Regions from separate parts of the Homo sapiens genome. Here regions 2 and 3 are each linked to region 1. The links are contacts of gene promoters, found by promoter capture Hi-C in human tissues and cell types (Jung and others, 2019). All regions are on one chromosome and are shown on one strand. Each heading gives the region's core, a stretch centred on a gene start or on the middle of the fragment in contact. The rest is flanking DNA. Distances are from core to core; before and after follow the strand shown. Region 1 holds the start of TRIM61 (tripartite motif containing 61). Region 2 has its middle 44 kb from the start of APELA. Region 3 holds the start of SMIM31 (small integral membrane protein 31).

Region 1 (3,078 bases), core at 447-2,946:
CCTATGGTGGGAGGCGAGACATGTTTGCAGTAATGCTGACTTGTTATTCTTTACTCCGCTGAGATGTTTGGGTGGAGAGAAACATAAATCTGGCTTACGTGCACGTCCAGTCATAGTACTTTCCCTTGAACTTAATTATGACATAGATTCTATTGCTCACATGTTTGTTGCTGACCTTCTCCTTATTATAACCCTGCTCTCCTACTACATTCCTTTTTGCTGAAATAATGAAAATAATAATCAATAAAAACTGAGGGAACTCAGAGGCCGGTGCCGGTGCAGGTCCTTGGTATGCTGAGCGCCGGTCCCCTGGGCCCACTGTTGTTTCTCTATACTTTGTCTCTGTCTTATTTCTTTTCTCAGTCTCTCGTCCCACCCGACTAGAAATACCCACAGGTGTGGAGGGGCAGGCCACCCCTTCATAAAGGACACAAGAGGACTCACTCCAGGTATCATTGTGCCCTCCTTTCCCCAAGCATACACCCAAAGCAGTCTTCTCTACTATTTAAAATCAGGACATTAAGTGAACAGAACAGCTCTGTAGGCACAGTCACCACCCTAGTTTAAACCACTTATGTCTCTCTCCTAGATACACAATGGTGCCTCCAATTTCTGAAGTCTGTAGCTAAACTGACCTTTTCAAATACAAACAGAATCCTTTCATATTTCAACTGAAAACATTCCACTGGTCCTTTATTACTTTATGGAAGCAATTCTCAAATCTTACCTTGCATTATAATCACCTGGAGGTCTTGGTAAAAGATTGCCTGGGCCACATCCCCAGTTTCTGACTCAGTAGGGCTGGTTTTTTCCTAAGTTCCCAGATGATGCTGCTGGCCTGCGGACTGTACTTTGTGAACCTATGCTTTAAGGAAAACAAAGCAAAAAGATCCATTAAGATCTAGTCCAAGTTTTTTGCCTAGCTCCCATCATGTCACATATCACAGTTATGTGATTTTACAGCTACTCTGCAATTCTTTACCTAACTGTAAAAACCCCTCACCAGGCAGCAAGCTTCTTGGTGGCAATACGTCTCTAGCTTGTTTGAGGAATAAATAAAACCTGTGGTAGATTCCAAGCTCTCAGTTTCAACCATCATCATACTGGCTGATTCTTAACATGCCTGCACCTAAAGCGCCTCATCTACAAAGTTGAAATGATAATTCGTACCTGTAAGACCCTTGTGAGGATTACAGGATGCTTACATAGGTCGAGGGTGCAGACGACGTAGGCTGGTGGGTTCTCAACTGGCAGCTACCACTTCGCTCCCTTAACTCCCCAACCCCCACTCCCAAACACGTACATTAACTCTTTGAAGATAACATAGCCACTTCATAAACCCTAATTCAGATCATAACATTTAAAGCTTAATTGATACAGGCTCAACACCCCCATTCTAACTCTACAATCCTGAATTTTTCACAAGAGCTACGCCAGACACTAAGGAGATCCAGTCGTGGGCAGGCAGCGACCCGGAGGTTTAGGCACAGAGAATGTTCAAGAAGCCCCTGTCCAGTTAAGCCTCCTGGCGAGGCCCTTCTGGGCCTTTCCTGCGGCCTTCCCAGCTCACCTGGAGCAGACGGATCAGCAAATCCGGCCAAAGAATACTCAGGACCCACCGAGCCCCCGCGAGGAAGGACTCATACCCCAACCCCACCAAGTGGGCTGCTTCCTGCCTGGGGCTCAGCCTGCGCGGTGGTTGGCAGTTGCCCCGGAAGTGGGCGGGAAGGACCTGCGCATGCTCTGTGACCCTGGGTGCAGGGATTGTGTGAAGATTGAGAGCTGGGGGCGCCCTCTTCCGTGATCAGGGCCCCGTTGGCCCCAACTGGCATTTAATTCCCCTGGCTGTCTTTTCGGATTCTTATCACTTTTTATGTATATGAGTAAACTTGAGGGTCCAAGTAAGTCTGCAAGTTGGTTTTAAAAGCTTCACCAGCACAGCGTCCCCTCCCAGATGGTGAGGGAGTGGAGAGCTTTGCAGGGTCAACTGCTTCCCGTAGCCTGGGGTCGCAGGGTGGAGTCGTTGAGCACTCCCTATGCTTGAAAGAGGAATAGAAGCCCCTTTGGATTAGTTTGCATCTCAGTGGGTGAGTGGGTGGATCTCTCCCACCCTGTGGGATTGTGCCCTACCCTATGAACTCAGGTTTACCTGAGGAAGTGACATTTCAGGCGGAATTTGAGGGATGAAGAGGCATTCGTTGGATCAATTCCACGGTCAAAGTCTTCAAGGCTGGAAGAAGAGCCAATGTGGAGCCTCTCAACTTTAAAGAATTTAGTACAGGCCGGGCATAGTGGCTCACACCTGTAATCCAAGCACTTTCAGAGGCAGAGGTGGGAGGATCGCTTGAGGCCAGGAGTTCAGGACAAGCCTAGGTAACATTGCCAGACCCTGCGTCTACAAAATATTTTAGAAATGATTTTTTTTTCTTTTAATAAGAGACGGAATCTCTCTTTCGCCCAGGCTGGAGTGCAGTGGCGCGATCTTGGCTCTCTGCAACCTCTGCCTCCCAGTTTCAAGCAATTCTCCTGCCTCTGTCTCCCGAGTAGCTGGGTCTATAGGCGCACGCCGCCACGCCTGGCTAATTTTTTGTTGTTGTATTTTTAGTAGAGACGGGGTTTCATCGTGTTGCCCAGGCTGGATTCGAACTCCTGAGATCAGGCAATCCGCCCGCCTCGGCCTCCCAAAAGTGCCAGGATTACAGGCGTGAGCCACCTCACCCAGCCAGAAATGATAATTTTATTTTTATTTTTATTTTTTTTTTGAGACGGAGTCTCGCTCTGTGGCCCAGGCTGGAGTGCAGTTGCGTGATCTCGGCTCACTGCAAGCTCCGCCTCCCGGGTTCACGCCATTCTCCTGCCTCAGCCTCCAGAGTAGCTGGGACTACAGGTGCCTGCCACCACGCCCAGCTAATTTTTTGTATTTTTAGTGGAGACGGGGTTTCACCGTGTTAGCCAGGATGGTGTCGATTTCCTGACCTCGTGATCCGCCCGCCTCGGCCTCCCAAAGTGCTAGGAGTACAGGCGTGAGCCACCGCGCCCTGCCTAGAGATGATAATTTTTAAAAACTTGGTACAAAAG
Region 2 (3,443 bases), core at 784-3,283, 140 kb before region 1:
TACACACATATATGTACATATACACACACATATATGTACATATACACACACATATATATGTATATATACACACATATATATGTGTGTGTGTGTGTGTGTGTGTATATATATATATGTTTTTTTTTTGAGACCAAGTTTTGTTCTTGTTGCCCAGGCTGGAGTGCAATGGCGCGATCTCAGCTCACACAACCTCCACCTCCTGGGTTCAAGCAATTCTCCTGACTCAGCCTCCTGAGTAGCTGGGATTACAGGCATGTACCACCACGCCTGGCTAATTTTGTGTTTTTAGTAGAGACGGGGTTTCTCCATGTTGGTCAGGCTGCTCTCAAACTTCAGACCTCAGGTGATCTGCCCACTTCAGCTTCCCAAAGTGCTGGGATTAGAGGCGTGAGCCACTGCACCTGGCTATTTTTTTTTTTTTTTTTGAGACAGAGTCTGGCTCTGTTGCCCAGGCTGGAGTGCAGTAGTGTCATCTTGGCTCACTGCAACCTCCACCTCCTGAATTCAAGCGATTCTCCTACCTCAGCCTCCCGAGTAACTGAGACCACAGGCATGTGCCACCACACCCAGCTAATTTTTGTATTCTTAGTAGAGACAGGGTTTTGCCATGTTGGCCAGGCTGGTCTCAAATTCCTGGCCTCAGTGATCTGCCCACCTCGGCCTCCCAGAGTGCTGGGATTACAGGCGTGAGCCAGTGCGCCCACCATGATAAATATTTTAAGCTTTGAGTGCCATATAGTTTCTGTTGCAACTATTTCACTTTGCTGTTGTACTCAGAAGGCAGCCATAGACAACACTTAAACAGATGCACATGGCTGCATTCTGATAAAACTGTAATAATGGATTCTAAAATTTGCATTTCATGTTATTTTCAAATGTCAGAAAATACTACTCTTCTTTTCATGTTTAACTATTCAAAAACATAAAAATCATTCTTAGCTCTTGAATTGTACAAAAATAAGTATCAGGCCAGATTTGGCCTGTGGTCTATAGTTTGCCCACTGCTGCTGCAACAGATTAATCAAGTGTTTCTTTTTGAAATGAATCAGCATTTCTGAAGCACTTCCAAGGAACACAGCTCATCTAATTTCCCAAATGAAGATATTATCATAAATACTCTATAAATGACAAGTTGCAAAGAACAGATGACCACGTGAACCTGAAAGTTAAAGGTTGTATTAAATTCAGATGCAAACAATTCACAATTCACAAGAATCCATTTATTAACAACAACAAAAAGCTTGCCTACATATTCGAATGCTTGGCAACAAGATGAATGTTGGTGGATAAAGCCATGGAAGGGAGTTCACAGCTATGATATGAGCTGCAATTGTATGATATAAGAGCAAATCACTTAAACTTTCTTGACTTCAGTTACCTCATCTATGAAATAAGCCCATTAGATTAGATTCTACCTAAACTTCCTTCCAGCTGTGAGTTTTCATCACGTCTATTGAGTTACAGCATAAAATAATTCATCTAGCCTGTATCTTGGAATTTATGAGCCCTGAATATGCAGACCATTACTAAGCCATGTTTGTCTTTGTTCACCATTGAATCCAATCCCAGGATCTATCCAAATGGCTAAAATATAGTAAAAATATAATAAATGTGTTGAATAAATTTTAAAAATACAAATTTCCTCACTTTACAAGATAATGTATAAAAAGTGATTGAAATAAGTTAATACATTTATTCATTTAGCAAATATTTTCTGAACAACAACTGTGTGTTAGGCACAGAAACTGGGCAGACACCAAGAGTAATAAGACAAGGAGGCTGGGCACAGTGGCTCACGCCTGTAATCCCAGCACTTTGGAAGGCCGAGGTGAGTGGATCACCTGAGGTCAGGAGTTCGAGACCAGCCTGGCCAACATGGTGAAACCCCGTCTCTACTAAAACAAAAATTAGCTGGACGTGATGGTGCGGGCTTGTAATCCCAGCTACTCGGGATCCTGAGACAGGAGAATTGCTTGAACCCAGGAGTGAGCCAAGATCACACCACTGCACTCCAGCCTGGGTGACAAGGCAAGATTCCAGCCTGAGCAATAGAGCAAGAGTAATAAGACAAGGTACCTGGCGAGGGAATTTCATAGTCTGATGGACCTAAGGGCAGAATGGGGTCGGGGTACAAAGGATGATGGGAAAATTTATTTATTTATGCCAATTTTCCTTTCAATTTGCTTTTATAATTAGAATATAAACATTTAGTAGAAAGAGTGAAATCTGAAATAAAAGTTGACTTCTATGTCTCTGTCCCAATCTTCGGAAATGAATAAATACTGGCCTGGTGCAGTGTCTCACGCCTGTAATCCCAGCACGTTGGGAGGTGGAGGCAGGTGGATTGCTTGAGCCCAGGAGTTGGAGACCCTCCTGGACAACCTGGCAAAACCCCATCTCTACCAAAAAAATATATACAAAAATTAGCCAGGCATGGTGGCGTGCACCTGTAGTCCCAGCTACTCAGGAGGCTGAGGCAGGAGGATCTCCTGAACCCAGGAGGCGGAGGTTGCAGTGAGCTAAGATCATGCCACTGCACTTCAGCCTGGGTGACAGAGTGAGACACTGTCTCATAAAACAAGCAAACAAAAAATTAAAAAATAATAAAAATAAAATAATAATTAAGAAATGAATAAATATTTTCTGTCATTTGCTCTTTCCCTAGCAAAATCTCTTTTTCACACATATATACACAAATACACACAAACACACATACACTCTGATTCTTTCAACTCATGACCTTTTATTTGTCATCTCTAAAAATGTTAATATTATGAAGATATGTTAATAAATGAGGATTGTTACATAAATGAAAATTTTAACTATGAAAGCTACAGTAGACAGACACGGAAAGTGTTGGCTCTAGATTCGGAAGACCATCATTGCGTGAACACAATAATGAACAGCACCAGACTGACAGGCGGGAGCGTAGCAACAGGCTAGGAGCATCAGAAAAGAACAGTCTACACAGACTGAGGTGGACGGCGAAGAGATGTGGCAGATTTTCTCTGTGAGTGCTCCCATTTTAATCAGTGAAATAATAAAGAAGCAAAGTCAAAACTGAGAATGATTAAGAGGAAGGGAAGAAGGTGTTGAAAGCTTAAGGCATAAGAAGTAATGAAATAATCACCCAGGACATTTTTTTTTCCTAAAATACACTCTAAGATAATTTTTTTAAATTATGTCTTTACTTTTTTTTTTTTTTTTGAGACAAGGTCTCGCTCTGTCACACAGGCTGCAGTGCTGTGGCATGATCTTAGCTCACTGAAACCTCCACCTCCCTGGATCAAGCAATTCTCGTGTCTCAGCCTCCCGAGTAGCTGGGACTACAGGCACGCACCACCCTGTCCAGTTAATTTTTTATATTTTTTGTAGAGACAGGGTTTTGCCATGTTGGCCAGGCTAGTCTTCAACTCCTAGCCTGCCCAAGTGATCCACCTGCC
Region 3 (3,526 bases), core at 567-3,066, 220 kb before region 1:
CTGTAGTCCCAGCTACTCAGGAGGCTGAGGCAGGAGAATGGCGTGAACCTGGGAGGCAGAGGTTGCAGTGAGCTGAGATCACACCACTGCACTCCATCCTGGGTGACAGAGCGAGGGTCCGTCTCAAAAAAAAAAACCGAAGACAAAAGCTGACAAGTAGCTGTGAAGTCCCAAGATAAACTATGGTTGAAAATTGTTTATCAAACTCTCGTGTTCGGCTTGCCTGTTATCACTAAAGACATTAAAGAATACTATAGAAATTGACCTATGTTCAGACACGTCACTCCTATAAACCACCTGTTGAATTTCTTGACTGTCAGCCAAAGCACAATCTTTGTTTGCTCAGAACTGTGTATAGTAGTGGTATTTACAGATGGTTGGGTGACAGAAAAAGTAAATAACTACGTTTCATTACAGTTTCCTGTTTCCTTCTTGATCCTTCACAAGGGAAGATTTTCTTTTTTAGAGGTACAGATTCCTCTTAGTCAAGTCCTGATTAAAACTCCAGCTAAGACATTAGTAAGCCTTGGTTAGTGAAGTGGCATCAGGAAGTGCCTACATTTTCATGGCCTGGTAGCGTTCAGTGAAAATGTTCATTAACAGACACAGGCCATTCAGTCCCGAATCCCAAGACACTGAAGACTCTGTTTGAATCAGACTCACGGGTTCCTTCCTAGCCACTCTCAGGGACAGGAATGCTTCTGGTAAGTTTTTATAAATCCCCTATTTTATTTACCTCAAAACTCTCTCTCTTTTTTTTTTTTAACTAATTCATATGGACTAGAAATGTAATATTTAACTGCCACAGCTAAGAAATTTTACTTATTGTTCTTTCCTGGAGGTATTTTTTTTTTTTTTTTTTTTTTTTTGCTGTTAAAAAAAATGGCTAAAGAGGGAAGGAAAATTTTCTGTTTTGTAGAACAACTCCCCCTCAGAATATTTTTCTTCTCTTTTGCTATGTTTGGTTTATTTGTCCTAGTTTTGTTTTTTTCCAAAGCCAGAAGATATGTATTTGTATTTAATTCCAAGGTAGAATTAACCAAATTAAATTAAATCATACGATTTCACTCAGTTCTTATACTTTTCTATGCTGAAAGTATGGTACCATATTTTGGTGAAAGCAAGAAATAATTTCAAAGGAAATATTTTTAAGGGATGTAGTTAAATAATTATTTAAGTTTAAGGTTAAAAGCAGATAAATGACGGTATTTCCTCCTGAGTATGATAGAAATATTTTTCTATCATCAGATTTATGTTATTAAAAGCCTTTAGAAATACTCAGGAGGAAATACTGTCATTTATCTGCTTTTAGCCTTAAACTTAAAATAAATAATTATTTAACTACATCCCTTAAAAATATTTCCTTTGAAATTATTTCTTGCTTTCACCAAAATATGGTATCATATTTTCAGCAGTAGAAAAGTATAAGAACTGAGTGAAGTCGTATGATTTAATTTAATTAGAAATATTTTTCTATCATCCACAGCCACAGCCAGGCACGGTGGCTCATGCCTGTAATCCCAGTACTTTGGGAGGCCAAGGCAGGAAGATCACTTGAGGTCAGGAGTTTAAGACCAGCCTGGCCAAAACGGTGAAACCCTGTCTCTACTAAAAATGCAAAAATTAGCTGGACACGGTGGTGTGTGCCTGTAATCCCAGCTACTCGGGAGGCTGAGGCAGGAGAATCACTTGAGCCCAGGAGGCGGAGGTTACCATGAACTGAGACCACGCCACTGCACTCCAGCCTGGGCTACAGAGGGAGACTCTGTCTCAAACAGAAAGGAAAGGAGAGGAAAGGAGGGGGGAGGAGAGGGGAAGGGAGGGAGAGGAGAGGAGGGGAGGGGAGGGGAGGGGAGGGGAGGGGAGGGGAGGGGAGGGAAATCTGTGGCCAGCATTGTGTTGTTCTAGATATTCAACCTGCAAATCTGAGCTGAAGTATTATGGGATATGCCTTGAAAATTGAAATTGAATGAAACTGATGTTATTGATTTGCCTTTTGTCCCATGTGATAAAATATAAAAAACACACCCAGTTTCACACCAGTCTCTGGTGGGACAGAGACTAGCAATTACATCATCAACAATTTAAAAAATTCTTTGGAATGCAGTAGTAGCAAAGCCTTTTAGTTCCCAACACGTTGTTATGAAAATTGTTCAAACATAGAGAAAAATTGAAATAATTGTATCATGAACATCCAAATGCCTTCCATGTAGATTGTACAATTAGCATTTTGCTATATTGGCTTCTTTACATATTATCATCTCTCTGTACGTCCACTGATTCACCTTCTTTATTTTTATGATACCTTTTAAAGTTGAAGACCTCAGTAAACTTTACCCCTAAACATTTAGGAAAGTATATCACTAACTAGAAGTCAATATTTGTTTAACTATTTTCTTGAGATAAAATTCAATTAGAGTGAAATGCACAAATCATTAGTGTTATGATTCAATGAATTTTAATGGATATGTACATCTATGTAATCCAAACCCCCGTCAAGATATAGAGAACATCTCTGCACATGTATCCCAGAACTTAAAGTAAAATTTCTTTAAAAAGGAAACTTTAAAAAGTAATAATAGGCCGGGTGCGGTGGCTCACGCCTGTAATCCCAGCACTTTGGGAGGCTGGGGCAGGCGGATCACAAGGTCAGGAGATCAAGACCATCCTGGCTAACATGGTGAAACACTGTCTCTACTAAAAATACAAAAAAAATTAGCCAGGTGTGGTGGTGGGCGCCTGTAGTTCCAGCTACTCAGGAGGCTGAGGTAGGAGAATGGCATGAACCTGGGAGGCGGAGCTTGCAGTGAGGCGAGATCACGTCACTGCACTCGAGACTGGGGGACAGAGCGAGACTCTGTCTCAAAAAAAAAATAATAATAATATAAACAAATAAAAAGATATAGAGAACATCAATATGGCTCCAGATCTAGAATGCTCTTTCCTTTTACCTAATCAAGTTCTACCCCTGCCTCCAGATGTAAACAATCTTCCTCTCTACATAGTATGTATGTTCAATGTTTTCTTCAGATTCATTTGTCTTGTATGTATCACAAAATCGTTCTTTTTAATGTTGAGTAGGATTCCATTATGTAAATATGTAATTTGTGTATCCATTCTCTTGTCAATGGACGCCTGAGTTTTGTCCAATTCTTGGCTAGTATGAATAAGCCTGCTATGGGAGATAAGTGTTTCTCTGAACATATGTTTTCAGTCTGTTGTGTAAATACCCAGAAGTGGAACTTCTAGGTCATACTGTAGTTATAGTTTATTTTATAAAAGACTTCCAGAGATTTTTTTCAAAGGAATTGTATCATTTTAACACCCTAACATTGTATGAGCATTTCAGTTACTACACATCTTTGCCACTCTTAGGGTTTTGGCTTTGATTTTAGCTATGTTAGTGGTTAGGCAATGCTATCTTATTGTGATTTTATTTGCGTGTATCTGATGATGAATGTCGTTAAGCATTTTCTCTTAGGTTTATTGGTCATTTGCATATGTTCCTTTGTGAAATGTCCATTCA

What was found. The method cuts DNA at HindIII sites, captures the fragments that hold promoters and counts their contacts. A contact is called where the count stands out against the background at its distance.
Region 2: a contact is called between a fragment that was not itself captured here and the fragment with the promoter of TRIM61 in region 1, in 2 of the 25 tissues and cell types used here (H1 embryonic stem cells and mesenchymal stem cells).
Region 3: a contact is called between a fragment that was not itself captured here and the fragment with the promoter of TRIM61 in region 1, in 1 of the 25 tissues and cell types used here (thymus).

What each region holds. Positions count from the first base shown.
Region 1 is chr4:164,975,961-164,979,038 of GRCh38, forward strand. It overlaps TRIM61 (tripartite motif containing 61), which reads right to left and starts at 1,697. Exons shown (of 3, transcript NM_001414904.1): 1 at 1,571-1,697; 2 at 728-865. RefSeq lists enhancers at 1,806-1,885, 1,916-1,975. The HindIII fragment of the contact is 6,036 bases long and covers 1,191-3,078 here.
Region 2 is chr4:164,831,937-164,835,379 of GRCh38, forward strand. No RefSeq gene overlaps it. Among named protein-coding and RNA genes, the nearest start is that of APELA, 44 kb to the right of the region's middle. The HindIII fragment of the contact is 4,934 bases long and covers 1-3,443 here.
Region 3 is chr4:164,753,708-164,757,233 of GRCh38, forward strand. SMIM31 (small integral membrane protein 31) reads left to right here and starts at 424. Exons shown (of 3, transcript NM_001352885.1): 1 at 424-704. The HindIII fragment of the contact is 6,494 bases long and covers 1-3,526 here.